Linked DNA regions of Homo sapiens: regions 2 and 3 are each linked to region 1. The links are contacts of gene promoters, found by promoter capture Hi-C in human tissues and cell types (Jung and others, 2019). All regions are on one chromosome and are shown on one strand. Each heading gives the region's core, a stretch centred on a gene start or on the middle of the fragment in contact. The rest is flanking DNA. Distances are from core to core; before and after follow the strand shown. Region 1 holds the start of OIT3 (oncoprotein induced transcript 3). Region 2 overlaps MICU1 (mitochondrial calcium uptake 1). Region 3 overlaps MICU1 (mitochondrial calcium uptake 1).

What was found. The method cuts DNA at HindIII sites, captures the fragments that hold promoters and counts their contacts. A contact is called where the count stands out against the background at its distance.
Region 2: a fragment that was not itself captured here is called in contact with the fragment with the promoter of OIT3 in region 1 in 1 of the 25 tissues and cell types used here (IMR-90 fibroblasts).
Region 3: a fragment that was not itself captured here is called in contact with the fragment with the promoter of OIT3 in region 1 in 1 of the 25 tissues and cell types used here (IMR-90 fibroblasts).

What each region holds. Positions count from the first base shown.
Region 1 is chr10:72,892,217-72,895,136 of GRCh38, reverse strand. OIT3 (oncoprotein induced transcript 3) reads right to left here and starts at 1,398. Exons shown (of 9, transcript NM_152635.3): 1 at 1,278-1,398. The coding sequence starts at 1,338. The HindIII fragment of the contact is 12,875 bases long and covers 1-2,920 here.
Region 2 is chr10:72,570,969-72,574,080 of GRCh38, reverse strand. All of the region lies in intron 1 of MICU1 (mitochondrial calcium uptake 1), which reads left to right. Among named protein-coding and RNA genes, the nearest start is that of MICU1, 54 kb to the left of the region's middle. The HindIII fragment of the contact is 4,136 bases long and covers 1-3,112 here.
Region 3 is chr10:72,528,822-72,531,951 of GRCh38, reverse strand. All of the region lies in intron 5 of MICU1 (mitochondrial calcium uptake 1), which reads left to right. Among named protein-coding and RNA genes, the nearest start is that of MICU1, 96 kb to the left of the region's middle. The HindIII fragment of the contact is 3,476 bases long and covers 112-3,130 here.

The DNA.
Region 1 (2,920 bases), core at 149-2,648:
ATACCCCACACCCAGTTTCCCTTGTTATGACACGTTACCTTTAGCCATACATTTACCACACATTGGCATGGTACCTTTGTCACATTAATGACCCACTATTGATACCTGATTATTAACTCAAGTCCACACTTATTCAGATTCCCTTAGTTTCCACCCATATCTTTCTGTTCCAGGATCCCACATTACCTTTAGGTGTCAGGTCTCCTTAGGGTCTCAAATCACCATTTTTATTTTTATTTTTATTTTTTTGAGATGGAGTCTCCCTCTGTTGCCCAGGCTGGAGTGCAGTGGTTCGATCTCGGCTCACTGCAACCTCCACATCCCGAGTTCAAGTGATTCTCCCGCCTCAGCCTCCCAAGTAGCTGGAATTACAGGCATGCAACACCATGACCATCTAATTTTTTTGTGTGTATGTATTTTTAGTAGAGACGGAGTTTCACCATGTTGGCCAGGCTGGTCTTGAACTCCTGACCTCAGGTGATCCACCCGCCTTGGCCTCTCAAATGCTGGCATTACAAGTGTGAGCCACCGTGCCTGGCCACAAGCCTATTTTTAATGTGTATCCTTTCAGGTACTAGAGCAACCATGAAGAAATAAGCCAGGGTCAATTAGATACTGAGCTACTCAAAAGTGTCAAGAAGGATGGTTCTCTCCATCTCACCCCCACCCTCTGTTCCAGTTAGTACTCACATTCTACTAGAAAAAGATGCAAGAGAGAAATCTGTTAGTAACTGGAATTGAAACTTTTCTTTGCCTGACTGGCCAGTTTTGCACCAAGCCTGAGGAGGGAGACAATTTAAGATTCACTCGATCTGTGCAAAAAGTCTTATTTTCTGACATAAAGACTAATGAGTTTGGTTTATCCAGATCTGTGCCCCCCATGGCAACAGAGCTTTCAGTCCCTTGCCTTCATTAAAGAAAAATTCTATGCTCAACTTTAATTTTTTTTTTTTTGGCTCTTCAAGTTGGAACTATAAAGTGCCTAGAACACAAAGAAGATAGAATTATTTTTACACATACTCCAGGAACTCTTTAGCTAGTGAAAGCTGTGGGATATGGCAGATCCATGGAAATTTTGGAGTCCAGGCAAGAGGCTAAATGGAACATGTAACAGAAATTCTCGGGAAATCTATTTTCAAGGATTATTAGGGACTTTTCTTACAAGATTCTAGAGCTAGCATTTAAGGTACTGGAATCTAGTTCTTAATCATCTGTACATTATAGCAAATTGCCACAACAAAAAGTGCATTGTGCCAAGTTCTTGACATGAGACTCACCCACGGGTGACACGGAGGTGCCTGTGATGAAGAGGCAGGTGAGAAGCAGGAATGGAGGCATCCTTCTGGACCAACTGCCAGAAACACTGGAAAATCCTCTTAATACTGGTGTTCCTTTGTCCCCTTCTCTTTCAAGCACTTTTTTTTTTAAGGCCTCTAGGCTCTCACGAGAAAGACTTTATCAGCACTGGTAGGGGCTTTATCAGAGGAAGAGGATGAGGATGAGTGGGATAAGGTGTCCACAGCTCTGGCCTTGGCCCCAGAGAGAAGCACTGCTTTACACTGTCAACAGGGTTCCTTTATTAATAGTTTTCTTTAGGAAAAAAAAAAAAAAACACAACTCACAATCCCTCATCCTCCTATTGTTTTCTCTCAAGAATTCCCTGCAATGAAACCCCAGTATCTTATCCAGAAGGGAATTCTAAATGAGGGACATCCCTTCACGTCAAATTCTTGCTTTGTGACTTCTAGGAATTGATTTCACAATGTTGCAGCCATAGCACTGCACACTAAACGAGAATGGATGAAGCCAAATCACTGCAACTGTCTTGGTCAGATGGTTGAGGAGCTTATAATAGCACACAAAACAAAGTAGTAAGGACAGGTATGAGACAAGGACAGTATTCTCTTGAAATAAGCTCCTGAGTTTGTTTTATTACGGTCTTTGGCCTCAAAACTTCTGAAAGAAACAAGGTTTAAATTGTGTTTTTACTAATTCAAGCAGCAATACCTCATATTTTTATTGTCTTTACTCCCAAAATTAAAAAATGGTTTAATGTTATTTATTTCACTAATTCTCACATTAAGATGGGGTAGGAGCTTAAAATTAGAAACTACTCATTAAATTAACACTCTGGAAAATTAAATGTCAAAATTTCCTGAAGTTTCACTTTTAGACAAAGGAGAGAAAATGTGCTTCTTAGCACAATTTTTTTTTTCAGACGGAGTCTTACTCTGTCGCTCAGGCTGGAGTGCAGTGGTGTGATCTCGGCTCATTGCAAGCTTCGCCTCCCGGGTTCACGCCATTCTCCTGCCTCAGCCTCCCAAGTAACTGGGACTATAGGCGCCCACCACCACGCCCAGCTAATTTTTTTGTATTTTTAGTAGAGACAGGGTTTCACTGTGTTAGCCAGGATGGTCTCGATCTCCTGACCTCGTGATCCGCCTGCCTTGGCCTCCCAAAGTGCTGGGATTACAGGTGTGAGCCACCGAGCTCGGGCAATCACTGGTTTTTGACAATGACAAAAGTACACATGGTCTCCAGAAGCACAGGGTTTATGGTCAAGCAAGGGGTTTCCATTGATCTAAAATTGTAGTTAGCTACTTCATTACTAACATCAGTGGGACACAGGCAATTTGACCATTAACTTATTAAGTTGTGGTTTGATGGCAGCAATGGATGACTCTGCTGTCTCATTGCAGGATAGTGTTGCTAAGTATCAGTGCTTTAAACAGAAAAAACAATCCCCCACAACTTCCTGCGCCTAGGAAGCCATCTGAGGGCTTCATATGTGTTGCAGAGAAACAGAGGACGTGTGCATGAGATAAACCCAGACTTGTTGCCAGGATTGATTGCTGGAGTCAAGGACTTTCACCAGATAGCCTTTGGTTCTGTAAACAAGAATTCCCAGGATGGTAAGATG
Region 2 (3,112 bases), core at 580-3,079, 320 kb after region 1:
GAAGAGCCAAGTAGTCATTCTCTAAATGTGCAGTTGTCAGGGGTCAGAAATATAAGGGGGTAAATCAAATATAAAAAGGCAAGCAGAAATTTTAAGTCAGGATAAGGATATGGTCTGGAATTGTAATAGTTTGCTAATTTGTGTAAGAATGTGCCAGTACTCAAAATAAAAGGATATGAGCTTGATTTACATAAAGTTTATCTCACTAGGGAAGCTTGCCATAATGTGCCTTGATTGTTGAGACATTATTGGGCCTGAGCTCAGTGGTGGGGCTGGTAAGTGACAGTTCCTGGCTGAGGGGAATGCAACAACTGCCTTCTGGGCCTGCCTTTATTTTTACTTAAATGAAAAAGTTTAAATAAAATCCCTAGGGGAGCATTAAATTTTATTTGCCTAATTTAAATTTTATTTATAAATAAAAAATTAACCATGTGATTATATATTTTACAAAGTTTAATTGGCATGTGCATATTACCTTATATTCTTCCTTTAAACTTAAATGAAAATGCTAATATGAAATACTGTACATTTGTTTGCATGGATAAATACATAAATTTTGTTTCAAATGAAATAGCATATCATAAAAATCTCTCTGTATGTTATCTTATTTCCAACTCCCACCAGCACCACTACTATTACTTTTTGTGAGTGTGTTGTTACTTAATAAGTACATATGCGTTCTTATTTTCTCCTTTTTTATATGAAAGGTGGCATACTGTATGTGGTATTCCATATGTTGCCTTAGTTTTTTTTTTTTTTTTTTTTTTTTTTTTGTAGTGATGGGGGTCTCATTATGTTTCCCAGGCTGGTCTCAAACTCCTGGACTCAAGTGACCCTCCCATATTGGCCTTCCAAACTGCTGGGATTACAGGCATGAGCTACTGCGGCTGGCCTATTGCTTTTAAAAAGATAACACTATGAACTTTTTTCATGTTTTTACATAAAGTTTTCTCATTCTCTTTATTGCTATGTGGTATTGCTTTATATAGATTTATCATACTTTAACCAATCTCTCTTGGTGAACATTGGGGTAGTTCTTAGTGTTTTGCTATTATAAACTATGATATAATAATTATGCACCATATACATGTGCATAATTTCACAAGTGTGCAAGTACATCAGTAGGGTATATTATTAGAAGTGGAATTTCTAGGCCAGTATATGCAGATTATATGAGTAATTTTAATGCAAATTACCAAATTGCCCACCATAAATTGTACAGATTTGCATGTTCATCAGTAGTGCCATTCTGCAACATTGTCAACAAATGTGTTTTCAAACTTTTTGATTTTTGCCCGTTTGATGGGTGAAAAGTATCTGAGTATAGGTTTAATTTGCATTATTTTATTATGAGTGAGATTAAGTATCTTTTCACAGTTTTCGGAGCCATTTTTCTTTTCCAACTGTCTTTTTATATCTTTACCCAACTTTCTGTTGGTTTGTGAAGTAATATTTTAATAATATTTTATTATTATCATTTTTAATATTTACATTCCATTCCATTATGTTATTATAGCATCATTTATTTTTCTGTAGTTGGGCATTTGATCTACTTTTAGAGTGTGGCTGTTATATTTTTTCTGCTGAGAACAGTTATTAAACAGGTTTTTCTCATTAAGTTTATTTGGGAGTCAAAAATGCAAGGATCTGTTATAGGTTTTTGTACTAATTAGCTATGAGGAAATCACATAACTTATCTGGGTCTGAGTTGGTAAAACTCAGAACTTTCAAAGTTTGAAATCCCCTAGAGCCATAGCATATAGAAATGGATTGCCCAAACTAATAAATCTTGAATACTTTATATGATCTTAGTCTTTTCTCCTAAATGAAATTAATTAAATTTTGTTATAGTGTTTTCTACCAAAGATATGAGAGTGCTAAAGAGATAAAAGGAACCCTAAGCTCACCTACGCAATTCTTTCATTTTACCAGTGAGTGAGCTTTTTTCCCAAGGAGGAGGGATGAGCTTCTTTAGTATATACAGCTAGCTGTTGAGTAGTACAGTTGAGACCAGATCTTGGATCATTGGATTTCTGCCATACTACTTAGTGTTTGTTTTTTTTTTTTTACCATAGTACCTAGTGTTGTTGTTATTGTTTTAATTTATTTCTCCTTTTTATCTTCCATATCTCCTGTGCAATTAGATATTAATATGTGTTTGATACCAATGTCTTTATCATTATTTTTTTTTTAGAGGTGGGGTTTTACCATGTTGCCCATGTTGGACTTAAACTCCTGGGCTCAAGCTATCCTCCCACCTCAGCCTCTTTAAGTAGCTGACGTGTGCCACCATGCCCAACTACATTTTGTTTTTCTTTGGAAATTTTTTGTTTGATTCTGTTTTTTATTTCTACACTTATAATCTAGGCACTCATCACCCAATACCTAGGTTATTAATGCCTTCTGGCTGTACTCATCACTTTCCTGTCAGCTCTCTCTGCCTTTGCTTCTTTGCAGTTTATTCCATGCACTGCTAATAGATAGACTGATAATGCTTTAACCCGTTTTTACCATGATCTCTTCCTATTAAAGAACTTGAGTGGCTTCCTATTTTACATATGCTCTAAATTCTTGGTCTGGCATTCAAAGGTCCTTCTCAAGTGATTGTGGCTTACTTAGTTGATCATATGTCTAGCTGTTCTCTACATCTGATCAGATGTTGTAAATTTATCTTCCAGGCTTATATACCCCTTGCCTGTTAGAACTTTTGGCTTTTTGAGGTAGGGTCTTACTCTGTCAACCAAGCTGGAGTGCAGTGGTACAATCTCGGCTCACTACAACCTCCGCCTCCTCGGTTCAAGTGATTCTTTTCCCTCAGCCTCCTGAATAGCTGGAATAACAGGCGCCTGCCACCAGGCCCAGCTAATTTTTGTATTTTTAGTAGAGACAGGGTTTCACCATGTTGGCCAGGCTGGTCTCGAACTCCTGACCTCAAGTGATTTGCCCGCCGTGGCCTCCCAAAGTGCTGGGATTACAGGTGTGAGCCACTGCACTCATCCTGTTCCAACTTTTGAATTGGCTGTTATTTATTTTAAACATTGAAAACTTCCAAGTGTCTGTTCTTTCTGTTGTCAGTGATGAATAATGTTTCCTCCAGATATGCATGTTTTAG
Region 3 (3,130 bases), core at 600-3,099, 360 kb after region 1:
TCCAGCCTGGGCAACAGAGCGAGACTCCGTCTCAAAAAAAAAAGATAAAGGACTAAAAAAAAAAAAAATAAAACCTTATGTAATGAATAAATTCATTTATTGTTTGATCAGTTTAAAAGTTTTCCATGTTTTTTTGTTATGTATGAAGTCTTTCGCTTGATAATTGTAACTGTCAGTACTTTCTCAACTGTCAGTCTTTTCATTTTTCTTTCTTTTTTTATTTTTTATTTTTTTTGAGATGGAATCTCGCTCTGTCGCCAGGCTGGAGTGCAGTGGCACCATCTCAGCTCACTGCAACCTCCGACTCCCTGGTTCAAGCGATTCTTCTGCCTCAGCCTCTTAAGTAGCTGGGATTACAGGCACACACCACCATGCCCAGCTAATTTTTTTATTTTTAGTAGAGACAGGGTTTCACCATGTTGGCCAGGATGGTCTCGATATCCTGACCTCATGATCCGCCCGCCTTGGCTTCGCAAAGTGCTGGGATTACAGGTATGAGCCACCATCATTTTTCTTTAGATCTTCATGACTCTTTTGTTCTCTCATCCAGAAAATCTTAATTCTTAAGTAACTGCTTCTAGAATATATGAATTCTAAGACAATTTTCTGTTAAAAAAACAGATTTGTGTGTAATGATATTATAGTAATTTTATGCATTATAGCCAGAAATGTAGTTAGAAAGCTAAACACCTAAGAGGAATTTCCTTTTAGACTTGCTTTGATTTTTAAATGGATAATTTTTTTCCCTCTCCCTCTGTTTTTTTTAATTTGGAAGATAAACTATTAAATCTTAGAGAAAGAATTATTTACTCCTATTGTCTTAGCCCCCATTATCTTAACTTTTAGCACACCATTTAACAAAGTCCAAAATTTGACCAGTAACAAACACTAGCTTATTTTATTGCCTTCTAATTGAATTAAACTTCAGCCTTTTTGTCATTGAAAGTAAGAACAAATATAAAAATAATATTTTCCTGGGATGTTTTAAATTTCTACCTGAATAATGGAACCTCCAGATGCAAAATAGGAAAGAGTGGTGCAACTGATATTGACAAATAATTGGATAGTTATTTCTTGTTTTGCTAAAATATTTTTTTCCTGATCTGTTTAATTAACTAGAAGGTTCCCTGTAAGAAGTAAATAAGACATTACTATTTCAACTGATAGTCAGTGAGAACTGAATTTAATTAAGCAGCTTTTGAATTTGTAGTTGAATCTTTTTCCAGAGCCCATTATTACTTTATGTTAATGGACACTAATACTTTTAGAATACTAGAAATTTCCCTTGTAGAAAAGTTATGAAATACATTATTATTGGCACTTGCATAGTCTATTGCATTTCCAAACCATCTACTATCATAGGTCTCGTATAAAGAATGGTAACAGCTATGGTTACCACTGGTTTTAAGAATATGTTTCGTAGATAAGTGATATTATTTTGAAAATATGAGACTAGGTTTAAAAGTTTAAAACTTCAAATCTTGAAAGAGTTCGGATTTTCTCTTAGAAGACATTTGAAAATTATTATAAATAGCTTATTAGCATTATAGAGATGGTAATACAAAATATATTCTGGCATTATTATTATTATTATTATTATTATTATTATTATTATTTTGATATGGAGTTTCGCTCCTGTCACCCAGGCTGGAGTGCAATGTCGTGATCTCGGCCCACTGCAACCTCTGCCTCCTGGGTTCCCAAGCGATTCTCCTGCCTCAGCCTTCTGAGTAGCTGGGATTACAGGCATCCACCACCACACCCGGCTAAATTTTTTTGTATTTTTAGTAGAGACGGGGTTTTACCATGTTGGCCAGGCTGGTCTTGAACTCCTGACCTCAGGTAATCTGCCCACCTTGGCCTCCCGAAGTGTTGCGATTACAGGCGTGAGCCACCATGTCCTGCCAGCTTTTGTTTTAATGTAATATGTCATAGATTCTTTCTAAATGCACCTTCCTGTGTTGAATCCTTCTTGTGAAAAGAAAAAAAAAAAAAAAAAAAAAAAGCACCTTCCCCTAGTATCCATGTATTCTGCTAACAATTTGTCAATACAGTCATTTCATGAATTTGGATTATTTATTTAATGAAAACTATATTTTTTCTTTGTTTCATTTATCATCTTTTATGATTTTACCATCTAGTTGGCATATAAAACAAAGCAATTATTTCTAAGTGGAGGCTTTATTTTACATTATTGTTAAATATTTCTTTCATGTAATCATTTAGTTGCTCTCTTTTATTTGCATGATTTATTTCAAGTGGTTTGTAGCCTTCTTTATTTTCCCATTTTCTCTTACCCCTTTTTTCCTTCAGCAAACCAAAGATAGAAATTATATTTTGTATTTCCTGTTTCTATTGCATGTAATAGACAACTTTCTCCACATCAAACATCACCATGTTTTTTTATAAAGTCACAGAATAAAATTTCTTGGTATAGATGAAATTGTTCCTTAAGCAAGGAATACCAATTTCCGCAACGTTGGATTCAGTCCCCTTATGTCTTCTAAAAGCTATAGTTTATACACTATTTTCAAGCAATAAAATTGTCTATTGAAACCAATTGTTCATTATCATCATACCACCATGTATTTCTTTTTTAGAGAATAGATTTGTTATTCTTTCCTACCTATTGATTCCCCTTTCCCCCAACCTCTCCCTGAACGTTTCAGAAATACTGCCTCTGAATTGAGTTTTTCCATTATTTGTAACTACAGTCCCCTCAGAACCTTGACAGTCTCTCAAACTTGGAAGAAAAAATTTATGTGTATTTTATTTCCACCTCCTTTATGTTATCTACAAGAATATTTGTTTACATGGAACAAGAAAACATTTTACATCAAATAAAAATGAAATATTATCCACATTTATCTGTAAAGAGATAAAAGTATAGTCAAAACCAAGAAAGGGAAGTATTGATTATAGTGTTTATAACAGACAATATGATTAGTAGAGGAACAGATGGAAGTCATAGTTGAAAATCAAAGCTTTAATATTACTACATTCTCTTTTACTAGGTGAAAGTTCTTTTTGAAAATATTAACAAATTAACTTTAAAATACCATTCCTTTTGGGGGAAATTGTTGGTTCTTCTAAAGAGAATATGAACACATTTTTTCCTATAATGTAATAC